Regions from separate parts of the Homo sapiens genome. Here all the other regions are linked to region 2. The links are contacts of gene promoters, found by promoter capture Hi-C in blood cells and fetal thymus (Javierre and others, 2016). All regions are on one chromosome and are shown on one strand. The core of a region is centred on a gene start or on the middle of the fragment in contact, and the rest is flanking DNA. Distances in the headings are between cores, read along the strand shown.

The links. Contacts are between HindIII fragments. The CHiCAGO score rates a contact against its expected background, and 5 or more counts as called.
Region 1: a fragment that was not itself captured here is called in contact with the fragment with the promoter of ZNF586 in region 2 in 14 of 17 cell types (naive CD4 T cells, total CD8 T cells, naive CD8 T cells and 11 more); the score reaches 15.9 in naive CD4 T cells.
Region 3: a contact is called between a fragment that was not itself captured here and the fragment with the promoter of ZNF586 in region 2, in 1 of 17 cell types (non-activated CD4 T cells). The highest score is 5.6, in non-activated CD4 T cells.
Region 4: a fragment that was not itself captured here is called in contact with the fragment with the promoter of ZNF586 in region 2 in 5 of 17 cell types (naive CD4 T cells, total CD4 T cells, fetal thymus and 2 more); the score reaches 9.4 in naive CD4 T cells.

The regions. Positions count from the first base shown.
Region 1 is chr19:57,471,931-57,475,354 of GRCh38, forward strand. ZNF772 (zinc finger protein 772) reads right to left here. Exons shown (of 4, transcript NM_001144068.2): 4 at 1-2,491. The coding sequence ends at 1,344. Among named protein-coding and RNA genes, the nearest start is that of ZNF772, 3.9 kb to the right of the region's middle. The HindIII fragment of the contact is 6,834 bases long and covers 1-3,424 here.
Region 2 is chr19:57,767,517-57,771,403 of GRCh38, forward strand. ZNF586 (zinc finger protein 586) reads left to right here and starts at 2,160. Exons shown (of 3, transcript NM_017652.4): 1 at 2,160-2,362. The coding sequence starts at 2,327. RefSeq lists enhancers at 1,884-2,423, 2,145-2,394. The HindIII fragment of the contact is 1,086 bases long and covers 2,078-3,163 here.
Region 3 is chr19:57,357,118-57,360,536 of GRCh38, forward strand. ZNF304 (zinc finger protein 304) reads left to right here. Exons shown (of 3, transcript NM_020657.4): 3 at 1-2,781. The coding sequence ends at 732. Among named protein-coding and RNA genes, the nearest start is that of TRAPPC2B, 4.7 kb to the right of the region's middle. The HindIII fragment of the contact is 9,033 bases long and covers 1-3,419 here.
Region 4 is chr19:57,385,876-57,389,686 of GRCh38, forward strand. No RefSeq gene overlaps it. Among named protein-coding and RNA genes, the nearest start is that of ZNF548, 2.1 kb to the right of the region's middle. RefSeq lists enhancers at 3,537-3,616, 3,757-3,811. The HindIII fragment of the contact is 2,712 bases long and covers 808-3,519 here.

The DNA of each region.
Region 1 (3,424 bases), core at 624-3,123, 300 kb before region 2:
GAGAAAATATAAAAGGAATCAGGAAACTTTTGGTTTGAGAAGTGCCAACATGTATCAAAACTTATCAAATGGTACACTATAAATATGTGCAGTTTATTGCAAAAATGTTTAGACTGACTTCTGGACAGTAACCTTAGCCATAAGAGACACAGGTATGGAAATATTTCTGTAAACCCTCATAATGGAGCCAGAGTAATGGAAACACATGTGGATGTACCTTTAGAAGGGTCATATTCCCTATAGTTTGCTGCAGTTTTCTCATTCCTTTATTAATCTGGGTTTCTGCACCAACTATGATTCCTACCTGGGCCTTCTGGAGGACAGCCAATATCAACTGCCTACTGAAAAATAGACTTCAGAGATCTTGACATGTCCACTGAGTTCAAATTCTCCTCAAGAAGCCTTGGGAATATGAAGTATCTTCTGGGAACAAGGGACGTAATTCATGTTGCTCCCAGACACATTAGAGATTATCACAACAAATGCCCACTGCTTAGGGTGACCTCAATTACACAAAAAATCTTAACATATAGACCAAAAGATTAGGCCTACAAAGACTGGCATTCTTTCCTAGGAGAGCTGAAGCAGTCAAGTAAGTTAGCTTGACACTAGCATAAGAGCTAGTCTTTGCCATCCTACTATCACTTCAGAGATACAGATAGTTGGAGCTCTCACAAAAGCTGTTCTTCCCTTCATACTGGCTTAGCTCAATTCTGTTCTCAACCCAACCCACAAAGCGAACAGAATCCTCAAGATTTCAGATAGTCTAAAAATTAAGGCATTTGTTGCAAAACCAGAATATGAGGCAGCCAATTTCAGGTCAGGTGTCTTGAAGGCTAGAAAAATTCGTCCCAAGTGCCATGTGAGATCAACTATATCCATGAAGGGAAACCTCTGCCAGTGGTCAGCAGAACAAAGCTCCCATTTTTCTGGCTAAAACTGGGTCATGCTCATGCTTAAACCAGTAGTGGGGCAGAAAAAAAGTGAGAATCCTTGATGGCCTCAGGCTACTGATGATTCCCTCCAGGGAAGGGAATAGTACAGAGGTCTGTCTTTTGAAACACATTGGGGTTACTTTGGCACAAGGCAGGACTCTTCCAGCACAAAGACAGATGGCTTCTAACAGGCACTGCCTTGACGAAATTCCAGCAAGAGTCTAGAAAATTCAGCATAGCTCCAGAAGGCTTCCCATATAGCTGGCACTCGGAAGAACCTCCCCAGGGTGAGTGTTTGAGTGTATAAAGTTCTACTTCTGGCTGTCGGCTACACATAAAGGCTATGCTTGGAGCTTCTCTCTGATGTCAGTTATTATGTTGAACAAGGAAACGGAATTATCTCCCATCCTAAGGCCTTTCTCCAGTGTGAATTTTCCAGTGGCGGATGAGGGAAGCCCTCTGCCTGAAGGCCTTCCCACATTCACTGCACTTATATGGCCTTTCTCCAGTGTGAATTCTATGATGCTGAACAAGTACATGTTTGTGGCTAAAGGCTTTTCCACATTCACTGCACACATAAGGCTTTTCACCATTATGAACTCTTTGATGTGCAATAAGGTCAGAGCTTTGGCTAAAGAACTTCCCACATGCGATGCACTCATAAGGCCTTGCTCCAGTATGAACACTCCAATGTTTAATGAGTCTGTATTTGTGACCAAAGTATTTTCCACATTCGCTGCACTCATATGGCCTTTCTCCAGTATGGATACTCTCATGCTGAACAAGTGTAGATTTGTGACTATAGGCTTTCCCACATTCACTGCACTTGTAAGGCCTTGCTCCAGTGTGTACTCTTTGATGTACAATAAGGTTAGAGCTATGATTAAAAACTTTCCCACATATGCCACACTCATAAGGCATTTCTCCAGTGTGGATTCTCTGGTGCTGAGCAAGTATGGGTTTGCGGCTAAAGGTTTTCCCACATTCACCGCACTCATAAGGCCTTTCTCCAGTGTGGACTCTCTGGTGTTGAACAAGTGAGTCTTTGCGGCTGAAGGTTTTCCCACATTCACTGCATTTGTAATGCCTTTTTCCACAGTGAGAGGCCTCCTCACACTTGGTGTTGCTGTGTGGCTTCCACTCATTGTGAGGGGCATGGTGCTCGAAAATGCTTGAGCTGGCTAGGAAGTCCTTACAAGCCTCCCCTGTCACAAAAGACATCTCCATTGATTGCACAGCACAGTTGTTCAGAAGAAAGGGCCTGCTCTTATCACTTCTAAAGGGTTTCTCTCCACTGTGCTGCTTCTGGTGCTGGTGAAGGTTTGCACTGAAGCAGAACTGTTTCCCACACAGCACACACATGTATGGTTTCTGCCCTGGGTGTGTTTCCTGGTGCTCAGCCAAGTGCAAAATGTCTTTTAAGACCAGGCCACATGTCCCACAGGGGTAAGCCTTCTGAGTAGAAGGACCTCCCTTGGGAATCCTGATCTGTGACATTCCTATAGAAAAGCTCTGCTCAAAAGGTATCTCTTCATCCTCCATTCCATGCCAACAACCTGAAAGCAGAGAAATGCTGGTGAAGTACAAATTGACACAGGTGGAAGAGGGGAAGCCTCACTACAAATATGTGTCTAACACAACTAAGACCAAGGTCATAGGACTGTTGTTAGGACAAGGGTCCAAACTCAAGTTCAGCAAATGTGTACTATACGGTAGTTGGCATCTAAATGTCATAGAATGGAGAAGGCCTCAACTGGGAGAGGACAAAGATGTGGGGTACAGCACAAAAAAGAGGCAGGTCTCAAAGTCATTCACAATCAGATTTTCTTGGCTGCTGGGGACAGGTGAGAGTTGTGCAGAAGGTTATGGTCCATACCAAAGAAAATCAAATTGCTACTCAGTAGTTGGTGTTTAAGGACTATTTGGGCTACACATCTCATGAAACACTAAGTACAGGCCAATGCTGGAAGGCACTGTAGAACAAGCCATGGAGAGGAACAGGTGAGACATGAAGGCAGAGGTATGGAACATCCAGAGGCCAAAGGCCAGAGTATGAAAGGCCAGTGGCCTTAGCACTAATACAACTGTAGGCACAAAGAGGCTATGGAATGATATGAACCCAGCCCTGACATCACACCTTTCCCCAGCTCCTACTCACCAGGGTCACTCCCACCTGGAGTCTCTGTGGCAACAGCTAGGGTCATGTCCACCCAGTCAGGTACCCAGGGCTCACTACCCATCACCAGTGAGGCAACTATGTGGGACATGAAAGATGTATGTCCTAAGGGAAAGATAGAACAGCACTGGTCTGGGTAACCCATATAGAAAACTAAATATTATTAAAATAATCTCAGAGTAAGGTCTTGCAGGAATAGTGCAGTGGTCCTAGCAAGTAGCGACCATAATGGTCCCTACAATTCCTGACATAGGCAGGCCACAGGAAATGTCAGCTAAAGGAAGAGCGCAGAATCCCAGGCACAGAGGTGTCA
Region 2 (3,887 bases), core at 910-3,409:
CTGCAACCTCCGCCTCCCGGGTTCAAGCCATTCTCCTGCCTCAGGCTCCGGAGTAGCTGGGACTACAGGCGCCTGCCACCACGCCCAGCTAATTTTTTTGTATTTTTAGTAGAGACGGGGTTTCATCATATTAGCCAGGATGGTCTCGATCTCCTGACCTCGTGATCCGCCCGCCTCGGCCTCCCAAAGTGCTGGGATTACAGGTGTGAGCCACCGCGCCCAGCCAACTTTTTTTTTAAGTATAGAAAATTTTACAGGTTGGGCGCGGTGGCAGGCGCCTATAATCCCAGCTGCTCGGGGGGCTGAGACAGGAAAATCACTTGAACTTGGCCAAGAGGCGGAGGTTGCAGTGAGCCGAGATCGCAGCAATGCACTCCAGCCTGGGTGACAGAGCGAGACTCCATCTCAAAAAAAAAAAAAAAAAAAGAGGTGGAGATTTCCCAGAACTGAGGTTCCCTCCCCTTTTTAGACTATATAGGGTAACTTCCAAACATTGCCAGGGCATTGGTATACTGTCATGGCGCTGGCGGGAGTTAGTATGCTAATGCATTATAATTAGCGTATAATGAGCAGTGAGGATGACCACAGGTCACTTTCATCACCATCTTGGTTTTGGTGCGTTTTAGCCAGCTTCTTTACTGCATCCTGTTTTATCAGCAGGGTCTTTGTGACCTGCATCTTGTGCCAACCTCCTATCTCATCCTGTGACTAAGAATGCCTAACCTGGGAATGCAGCCGAGTATTTCTCAGCCTTACTTTATCCAGCCCATTTTCAAGATGGAGTCACTCTGATTCCAATGCCACTGACAATGATAAGCACTTGCCAGCAAAGAGGTGAACGCATGGATTTAAGGCACTTGAAATATCTCAGTGTAAAAGCACCCTGTGCATGTAGCAGGACGAGCCGCAGACAAAACCTCTCAGACACCGAGTTGCAGAAGGAAGGGCTTTATTCAGCTGGGAGCATTGGCCAGCTACTGTCTCAAAATCTGAGCTCCCGGAGTGCACAATTTCTGTCCCTTTTAAGGGCTCACAACACTAAAGATTTCACATGAAAGGGTCGTGATTGATTTGAGCAAGCAAGGGGTATGTGACAGGGGCTGCATGCACCGGTGGTCAGGGAGGAACAGAACAGGGCAGGGAGTTTCACAATGTTCTTCTATACAATCTAAGGAATCTATGAATAACATCGGCTTCTAAATCATAAGTTGATTTTTAACTACTGGGTTTAGGCCAGGCGGGCCTAGGCCTGGTTTCGGGCCTGGCGCGGGGTTGCCTGTCTTTGGTTTTACTTCCTTGTTGTTTTTACTGAATATAAAACAATGTGAGAGGGTCTCTCTCTTCTCTCATGCATACATACTCCATGTTTGAACACCGCAGCCATTGTCCTGTAACATAATAGCATTTGTCTCATTAGCTTTTTGATGTTGATATCAGATTTCTAGAGGAATCTGTAGGTTAAAGATATAAATAAAAGTGTTGCTAATGGGCTGAGAACGGTGGTTCACGCCTGTAATCCTAGCACTTCGGTAGACCATTGCAGGCAGATCACTTGAGGCCAGAAGTTCGAGACCAGCCTGGCCAAAATGAGGAAACCCCGTCTCTACTAAAAATACAAAAATTAGCAGGGTATGGTGGCACACGCCTGTAATCCCAGCTACTCGGATGGTTGAGGCACGAGAATCGCTTGAACCCGGGAGGCATAGGCTGCAGTGAGCCAAGATCACACCACTGCACCCCAGCCTGAGTGACAGAGAGAACTATGTCTTAAAAAAAAGACAAAAAAAAAAAAAAAAGGAAGAAGCCGAGCATCACAAATTCTGAAATAAGAAGTCTCCAAACACGCGGGCAATCAGTTGCACACAGTACCCCCAGAAATGTGCGTATGGCCTCTTCTAAGATGGGAGACCCTCCTCCGCATCTGGACCTGGAGTCGCCATTTCCTAGCGCCCCTCGCAGTGGAGCTTGCCCCTTTCTTCGGAAAGTCGGAAGAAAGCCACCTTAAGCGCTGCCCATGTCTGGGAACTACATTACCCAGAATCCGCCCTGCGAAATGGTAACGTGGCTGAGCCAATGAAGCTTCAGAGAAGCCGTGCCATTGCCGGGGCACGTAAAGTCAAGCCAGGACTTCCGGCGTCCTAGCCGTGGCAGCCATTTTGGCCTGTCAGGTCCATCCGGCGATGCTGGGTCTGGACGAGCTCGGGAGGAGTGGTTGTGGCCATTGCACACAGGCGGATCTGAGGTTCGGCGACGCCGCTGGTCGCGACCCGGGACAGGACAACGACAGGAACACCGCCGAGCCCGCGTTCCCCCCCCGCCCAGAGTCATGGCGGCAGCAGCCGCTCTGAGGGCGCCTGCTCAGGTGAGCGCTGCGACCTCCGGGCCTTACCCACCCTACCCACCCAGACCCTGAGGCCCCTGATCGTGAGGGCCGCCTCCTCGCGTCCCTGCAGCCCAGGCCTCTGTCAGGGACGGAGAGGCGCCGGCGGGTGGGATCCCTGTTTCCGACACCCAGTTGATGCGGTCGGCAGAGCGAGACTGGCGGAGGGCAAAGGCCTGCAGGCGCGACTGAGGCAGGAGGATGCGGAACACGGGGACATCGTGTGTCTACTGGGAAAGAAGTGTGATACGGAGTTATTTCTTTTTTTTTTTTTTTTTGAGACGGAGTCTCACTCTGTCGCCCAGGCTGGAGTGCAGTGGCGCGATCTCGGCTCACTGCAAGCTCCACCTCCCCGGTTCAAGCGATTCTCCTGCCTCAGCCTCCCGAGTAGCTGGGATTACAGGCATGCGCCACCACGGGGTTTCACCATGTTGGCTAGGCTGGCCTCGAACTCCTGACCTTAGGTGATCCGCCCACCTCGGCCTCCCAAAGTGCTGGGAATACAGGCGTGAGCCACCGCGCCTGGCCGAGGCGGAGTTGTTTCTTCAGTACCAGGCTGAGGGTTGAACTTTGACTGTGAGGACGCTAAAAGCCATGGACAGTTTTGAACAAAGGAGGAAATCTGTGTTAGAGTTGCGATTCCCAAAAGATGTTCGAAGGAAGAACAGAGTTGAAGGCAGTGATGAGGACATTGAGAGGTTGAATCATTGAGAGGTGACATTGAGCACTGGGCCACAAGATTAGAGACTCAGTCTGAAGTCATCTGGCTGCAGGGCCAAAAAAAGCTTACAGAGAAGCCTGAGTCTATCAAATCCGAGCACAGACACATTTGTGAAAGCCCTGCCTTTTGGCACACCTCATGGCTACAGAAGCACTTACAGAATCCACAGTAGGAAGTAGGGGATGCTCTAGTCCTTCACTGGTCCTCATCCTATCCCACATGTCTAGATCTTGGCATCTTTTTTTTTTTTCGGCGACGGGTTCTCACTCAACACCCAGGCTGGGTTGCGGTGACGCGATCACGGCGCAGCACGGCCTCGACCTCTCCGGGCTCAGGAGAGCCTCTCATCTCAGTCTCCCGAGTAACTGGCTTTTTGTATTTTTAGTAGAGGTGGGGTTTCACGGCCGGGCGCGGTGGCTCACGCCTGTAATCCTAGCACTTTGGGAGGCCGAGGCGGGCGGATCACGAGGTCAGGAGTTTGAGACCATCCTGGCTAACACGGTGAAATCCCCCCTCTACTAAAAATACAAAAAATTAGCCAGGCCTGGTGGCACACACCTGTAGTCCCAACTACTTGGGAGGCTGAGGCAGGAGAATCGCTTGAACCCGGGAGGCAGAGGTTGCAGTGAGCCGAGATCGCGCCACTGCACTCCAGCCTGGGCGACAGAGAAAGACTCCGTCTGAAAAAAAAAAAAAAAAGAGAGAGAGAGAGATGGGGTTTCGCCATGTTGCCCAGGCTAGTCTCGAACCCTTGGGCTCAAGCAGTCCTCTTGCTTCGGCTTCCCA
Region 3 (3,419 bases), core at 49-2,548, 410 kb before region 2:
AGGCCCTATGAATGCATAGAATGTGGAAAATTCTTTAGCCATAACTCTAGCCTCATTAAACATCGGAGAGTCCACACAGGAGCAAGATCCTACGTGTGCAGCAAATGTGGGAAGGCCTTTGGCTGCAAAGACACACTTGTTCAGCACCAGATAATTCACACTGGAGCAAGGCCTTATGAGTGCAGTGAATGTGGGAAGGCCTTCAGCCGTAAAGACACACTTGTGCAACACCAAAAAATCCACACTGGAGAAAGGCCTTATGAGTGTGGTGAATGTGGTAAATTCTTCAGCCATAGCTCCAACCTTATTGTACACCAGAGAATTCACACTGGAGCAAAGCCTTATGAGTGCAATGAATGTGGGAAATGCTTTAGCCACAACTCCAGCCTCATTTTGCACCAGAGAGTTCACACAGGAGCAAGGCCTTATGTGTGCAGTGAATGTGGGAAGGCTTACATTAGTAGCTCCCACCTTGTTCAACACAAGAAAGTTCACACTGGAGCAAGACCTTATGAGTGCAGTGAATGTGGGAAATTCTTTAGCCGCAACTCTGGCCTCATTCTGCACCAGAGGGTTCACACTGGAGAAAAGCCTTACGTATGCAGCGAATGTGGGAAAGCCTATAGCAGAAGCTCCCATCTTGTTCGTCACCAGAAAGCTCACACTGGAGAAAGAGCTCACGAGTGCAACAGTTTTGGTGGCCCTTTAGCTGCATCTCTTAAACTTGTTTAACACCAGAAAATTCACACAAGAGAAAGGCCTTATGAATGCAGAAAATATGTCATCTTGTTCATCCTCATAGGACTCACACCAGAGCAATGCTCTGTGAGTACCCTTTGTGAGGGAACCATCAGCTAGCAGATGAGCACCGTATATTCATTCCACCCTGGGGAGATTCCTGATAAGCACCACATATGTGGGAGGCTTTCATGAGGTGTGTTGCACTTTGTAACTGTCTAGAGCTCTTGATGGAATTATATCACTGCCAGTGCCTGTGGCGGAAGCCATCTTATTGCTACCAGCTGTGTGTGTCAATCACTCCATTTTGCTCAGGGAAGGCAGACTTCTGTGCTTTCTTTCCTGTTCCCTACAGGTAATCATGAATATTTTCAAGGACTTCCCCCCCCCCCCACTTCACCCCCTACCATTGAGGGTCCTCATCTTTTCCCTCATGATTAGGTTCTGAGCAAACATGATCTAGCTCTCACCAAAAGGACCTGAGCTAGGGTCTGCTGGGATTTCCTGACACGATTTTCCATCTTCATGGACAATGTTAACTGTAAACGTGATAGCTGTGACTTACTTGTCTTACTGCCAAATCGCCCAAATTTGGAACTGCTTGTCCCATGCTGCTCTGATTTATACAGTGATAAGGGCCTATTGTGGCAGTCTTTACTCTTGGGGATTTTGTTACTGTGTAGAGTGGATTGAGAAAAGAATTGGGTTCTGTCATGAAGGGAGTAGCACCTTTTGTGGGCACCACCTTTATGTGCCTCAGAGGGGACCAAAGGATGGCAGAAAACTGTTCTCAGTCTAGTTTGACCTAATTTACACTATTGCCCTAGGCTTGCTAGGAAAGACTGAAAAAATTTTTGTGCCTAACTTTGTGGCCTGGCTGCCAGGATTTCCTGTGAGCCCAGTGAGGAGGGCATAGTTGGTGCGAAAATCTCCTGTGCTTGTGGAAGCAACATAAGTTGGGTCCCTTAACTGTCACGTACTCCCCAGCACTGTTGAGGGATTGCTGTCTTCTGTACCTGTACAGGATCAAGTCCCTGATATCCAGAACCCCATAGGCAAGTAACATTGACTGTAAGACCTCTGTAGGGCAATGTGAAAATCATGATTGCTACAGAAGCACTGAGATAATGGAGTGGGGATGACTGTGGCAAACAAAAGGAGATTCGAACATTCTAGAGGGGCATCCACAAGTCTCGGTGCAGTTATGATGGTGTGGGATGGGAGTGCATAGAAATTCTCAGGACCTTCAGACATCTGTATCTCCTGTGGCCAAGGCCACTGTCAGAGGAAATAATCTAAATGTTTGTGGATTCCTGTGTCTCCCTGGGCAGTTGACCTGCACAGACAGGAACCTCAGCAGTGACAGAAGAGAGATCCAGGGATGGGTCTTCTCTGACCCAGCCAGCATTCCGAGTGACTGAGGTGGATGTGGACATCATTGCTTACCAATTTTTACCAACATTGAGGCAGGGCTCACTCTCCTAAATTGTAGGGAGAGGAATATGGTAAAGCCAAAATAGTTGACAGATCTAACTTTCCTAGTGGAACAGTATATATAGATTTTAATGAGGAACATTTATTTAATAGCTTTATGGAGGTATGATTAACATGCAATAAACTGCAAATATGTAAAGTGTAAAATGTGCTGTTTCAGCATGTGTGTACACCTATGAAACCACCACAGTCAAGATATCCAACACAACAAAAGATTGTCCCTTTATAATCCTCAATTTTTCCTTATCTTGTTTTCCACAATTCACAAGCAACAGCAAGCATTTTCTATAATTTTATAAATGAAACCATATGGTGTGTACTTTTTAGGGGGTGGGGCTCTGGCTTTTTCAGTAAACATAACTATTTTAAGGTTAATCCATTATCTTGTTGCATGAATCAATTGTTTGCTCATTTGTATTGCTGCGTAGTATTTCAGTATTTCATTGTATACCACAATTTTTCTTCTTTGTCAACTTAATTGTTATGGATGTTTGGGTAACTTTCAGTTTTTGGCTATTACAAATAAACCTCTGAAGATTTGTGTGCAAATTATGGCTGAATGATATTCCATTCTATAAATACACCTCAGTTTCTTTATCCATTTACTTATTGAAGGACGGTTGCTTTCAAGTTTTGGCAGTTATGAATAAACCTACTACATATTTGTATAGTTTTTCTGTGGAGATGTTTTCAACTCATTTGGATATGTGCCAAGGAGTGCAATTTTCTCTGTCATATAGCATGTTTAGTCTTGTAAGAAACTGCCAAGCTGTCTTCCAAAGCGGCTGCACCATTTATTTTATTTATATATATTTTTTGAGACAGAGTCTCCACTCTGTCACCCAGGCTGGAGTGCAGTGGTATGATCTTGGTTCACTGCAACCTCCACCTATTTTAGTAGACATGGGTTTTTACCATGTTGGCCAGGCTGGTCTCAAACTCCTGACCTCAAGTGATCACCCTCCTCGGCCTCCCAAAGTGCTGGGATAACGGGGGTGAGCCACTGCAACGGGCTGTGGCTGTACCATTTTTGCATCCAACTAACAATGATTGAACATTCCTCTTGCATCTCATCCTAATCAGCATTTGGCATTTTCAGTATTTTGGATTTTAAAATGCCATTCAAATAGGTGTGTAGTGGTATGCCATTGTTGCTTTTATTTGCAATTCCCTAATAACACACAATA
Region 4 (3,811 bases), core at 914-3,413, 380 kb before region 2:
CAAACTCATAACTAATTACAAACAGATGGAACCATTGAAAGCTTGCAAACTTTTAAATTATATTCATATAATTAAAATATAAGTAATAATTTATATTCAATTAAGAATAAATGGGGCCAGGCGTGGTGGCTCATGCCTGTAATCCCAGCACTTTGGGAGGCCGAGGCAGGCGGATCATGAGGTCAAGAGATCGAGACCATCCTGGCCAACATGGTGAAATCCCGTCTCTACTAAAAATACAAAAAAATTAACTGGGCGTGGTGGCGTGCATATGTAGTTCCAGCTACTTGAGAGTCTGAGGCAGGAGAATCACTTGAACCGGAGAGGCGGAGGTTGCAGTGAGCCGAGATCACACCACTGCACTCCAGCCCAGCGACAGAGTGAGACTCCGTCTCAAAAAAAAAAAAAAGAATAAATAGATTTTGATATCTCAAGGGAAAAAAAGTGATATTCCTATTTGTCTGCAGGGCAGAGCTGTAGTGGTCAGGCAGTCTCCTCAAACAAAGCCAAAACTGCTATTATATGAGCTTTTAGGAAGGCTGGCCTTCAGGGACTGAGGACTTTCAGAAGCAGCAGAGTTGAAAGACTGATGGACTTTCAGGTATGTTAGTGTAAATGCAACCATTTACCAACTGGCTTTCATAAACAGGATTACTGACAGGAGGCACTTGTGGATTAGTTGTTGCCAGCAGCCTGGGGCTGCCACTGATTGACCATCTTTAGTACTGGGCCTTACCCCCATTGGAAAAATTTTAGAATCTTGGCCTAACAATGATTTGCTAAGTTTCTGGTTAATTACTGGGGTGAAGCTTTTGCTGACTAGCTGACTTTTAAAGCATAGGTACACATCCCAAGTTATCTCTAATTAATGGTGGTTTCTTGTTTATGATTATGGATTTGGGGCAGAGATAAATTTTTTCCTTACTTGAACATAAGCCAGCAACTTAATTCTCATTCCCCATTTTTGGTTTCCCAACAGCCAGAATTTGTAAGAAATCATATGCTATGGTTTGGATGTTTGTCTCTTCCAAAGCTCATGTTGAAATTTAATTTCCAATGTTTGAGGTGGGGCCTAATAGGAGGTGTTCTGGTCATGAGGGTAGATCCTACCTGAATACCCCCACTTGAAGATGTGTAAATTCTCACTCTATTAGTTCCCAAGAAAGCTGGTTGTTGAAAAGAGCCTGATACACTCCCCACCCACTGTCCTCCTCTCTTGCAATATGATTCCTTCGCATTATAGCTCTCTTTCGTTTTCCACCATGAATAGAACCCGCCGAAGACCCTCACCAGATGCAGATGCCCAATTTTAAACTTTCCACACATCAACATTTTGAGCCAAATAAACATTTTTTTCTTTATAAATTACCAGCTTCAGGTATTCATTTATAGCAACGCTAACTGGACTAAGACATCATAAGTATTATCTAGATATTTGTTTGTGAGGATATGATTTTCAACTCATGTTGCCAATGAGTAATTTAACGGCCAGTTACAGTCTGAGAAAAATGTGTCTCCCACTGGTGATTCTTTGTAATATATTACAACCAGCTGATATGTAGGATATGTAGGCCATTCTGATAAGTCAATACAGGATTCAGGAAAAATCGTTATATATAGGTCATATTCTTAAACTGTGCCCAGGTCTTAATTAATAATTAGCAATGACACAGAGGGGACACTGCCATCAAAAGAAAAGATTAATGTTACAGTTCCCTGGAAATAAGAGGCACTGAACACCACACAGGCCACAAGAAACCTTATTACATACAGAGACTGGAAAGCAGAAAGAGAAAACAGAGTAACTGGAAGTATGTCTTTATAACTAAAGTGGCAGAGAATGATGAGGTAGAGATACCGTCGATGGGCAGGAAGGAAAAACACATTTTAGTGTTTGTGGTTGGGGGGTTTTATATGAGTTTCATGCACTTGAGTAAGTGGCTTGCAAGAAAAAAAGTAAACAACTTTGGTTCTATTAGTTTGACCCTGTGATTAATGAATATCAAACAGACAAATACAGAATCTAAGAAAACATAGAACAGTCCTGTATACACATAGCAGCTGGGAAACCTATTCCCAGTGTGTCCCATGCACCTATCATTGATCTGAAACCCAATACATATGTGCTCATTGAACATTTACTAGAGAAGTAAATACACATTATCACACAGCTTCTCTATTCATTTTTATCTGTGGCAAGTCTTTCAGTTTATCATCTGTACTTACCCCTCTAAGCAGTTAATGAGCAATGTTTTCAAGTGTGTAAAAAAATTACATTTTGGAAACAAAAGCATAGTGTGTCCAAGTGTCCAGCAGAGCCACAGGTTCAACTTCATTCTCTGACTTCTCAGAATTTGCTGTCTCTCACTCAAACATTGAGATCTTATCTTTTTCTCACATTACAGATCGATTTCTCTAGGGCTTCTGGTTTTTTTTCTTTTGGAATAACCTACATAATTACTAATAGATTTCGGTAATTTTTTTATTTCACAAGTGTTTTTCACATTTCGACTCCCTGTGCAAATACAGTTGTAAACACAGGTGAAATTTTAAATCACTTCTGAGGAAGAAGATAACATCATGGAATTCCACACCTTTTTTGAGGATAAGATGTGCATATGCTTCAACTATGAAAACGGTAGACAATGTTGTCCAGAAATGGCATGTATCAGCTGCTCTTGAGAAATAAAAATAAAATTCTAAGCACCCCCTAACTGACTGAATGGATGCCCTCTTGACCATGAGAACCCTAGAATAACTTTGGAAGCTGAATTCACCACTATAGAGGAACGGGAAATCAGACACACCTCATTATATCCCCTACCACACTACAATCATTAGGTTTTCTTCCCTAAGGGCTAAATAGAAATCAACCTTTTCAGAAGACTACTAGCTTATCTTCCAAGGTACAGAACAGAGAGAAGATGAGATTATTCATTCCTTCATCCTTCTCTGAGACATCTTCTTTATTCCCTTTTCCCCTCACGTGTTTACTCTATCTTATGTAAAATGTAGATTTACTGGGCACTAACTAAAGTTTCACATGTCTGTAATCATTTGTCTCACTGCCAACCCCTCTTCCTTTTTAAGGAAAATGTATAATAAATACTAAACCTCCTAAGAACCTCTTTGGAAAAACCAGCCACAGATGCTTCTGTGACTTACATTTTTCTGGATGTGCCCTTAGGCTGGTCCAGTAATCCTCCATGATTTGTGACTTATGCCTCAATCACTCATTTTGGTCGTCACTCTCATTTTCAGATAGGATTGTGATTCTTAAAATAAATGGAAAATATCTCAGATATGAAGTAGTAAGTATTATTAGAATAAAAGCGTTGCACCCTTCGTAGGAACACAATCGCTGACTCTACAGTCAGGTAAGATGTATTCTCTTTGATCCAGAGGCATAGCTTCACCCTTTCAACCTACTTCAGCGTCTCCTGTCATCCTTCCTACAAATTCCAGTCCATAGCCCTAACTGCGTAGTCTTTCTTTCTTCTTCTGGACCAAACATATTGAAGCTTACTAAACAGACGCCAAAGCGTAACTGTATGTGTATTTGAAAAGCAATAATATGGCTGGCAGGCATGAGTAGAGGCAGACTGCCTTTATGGTATGGGGTGTCTCTTTGGACCTGTAGTTATTGGGAATTAGCTGTGCTTAATAGAGTCTTAAGTAATAAGTTGCTAACATTTCTGTAAATATCCTATACTACAATCCAAAAAAATACCGTATGTTGCCTTTAAGAGCAAGCCAAGCCCCCTCCTGTCTTTGGAGTCGGGGACTCCGTTTCCCAGCTCCCCTGACAGTG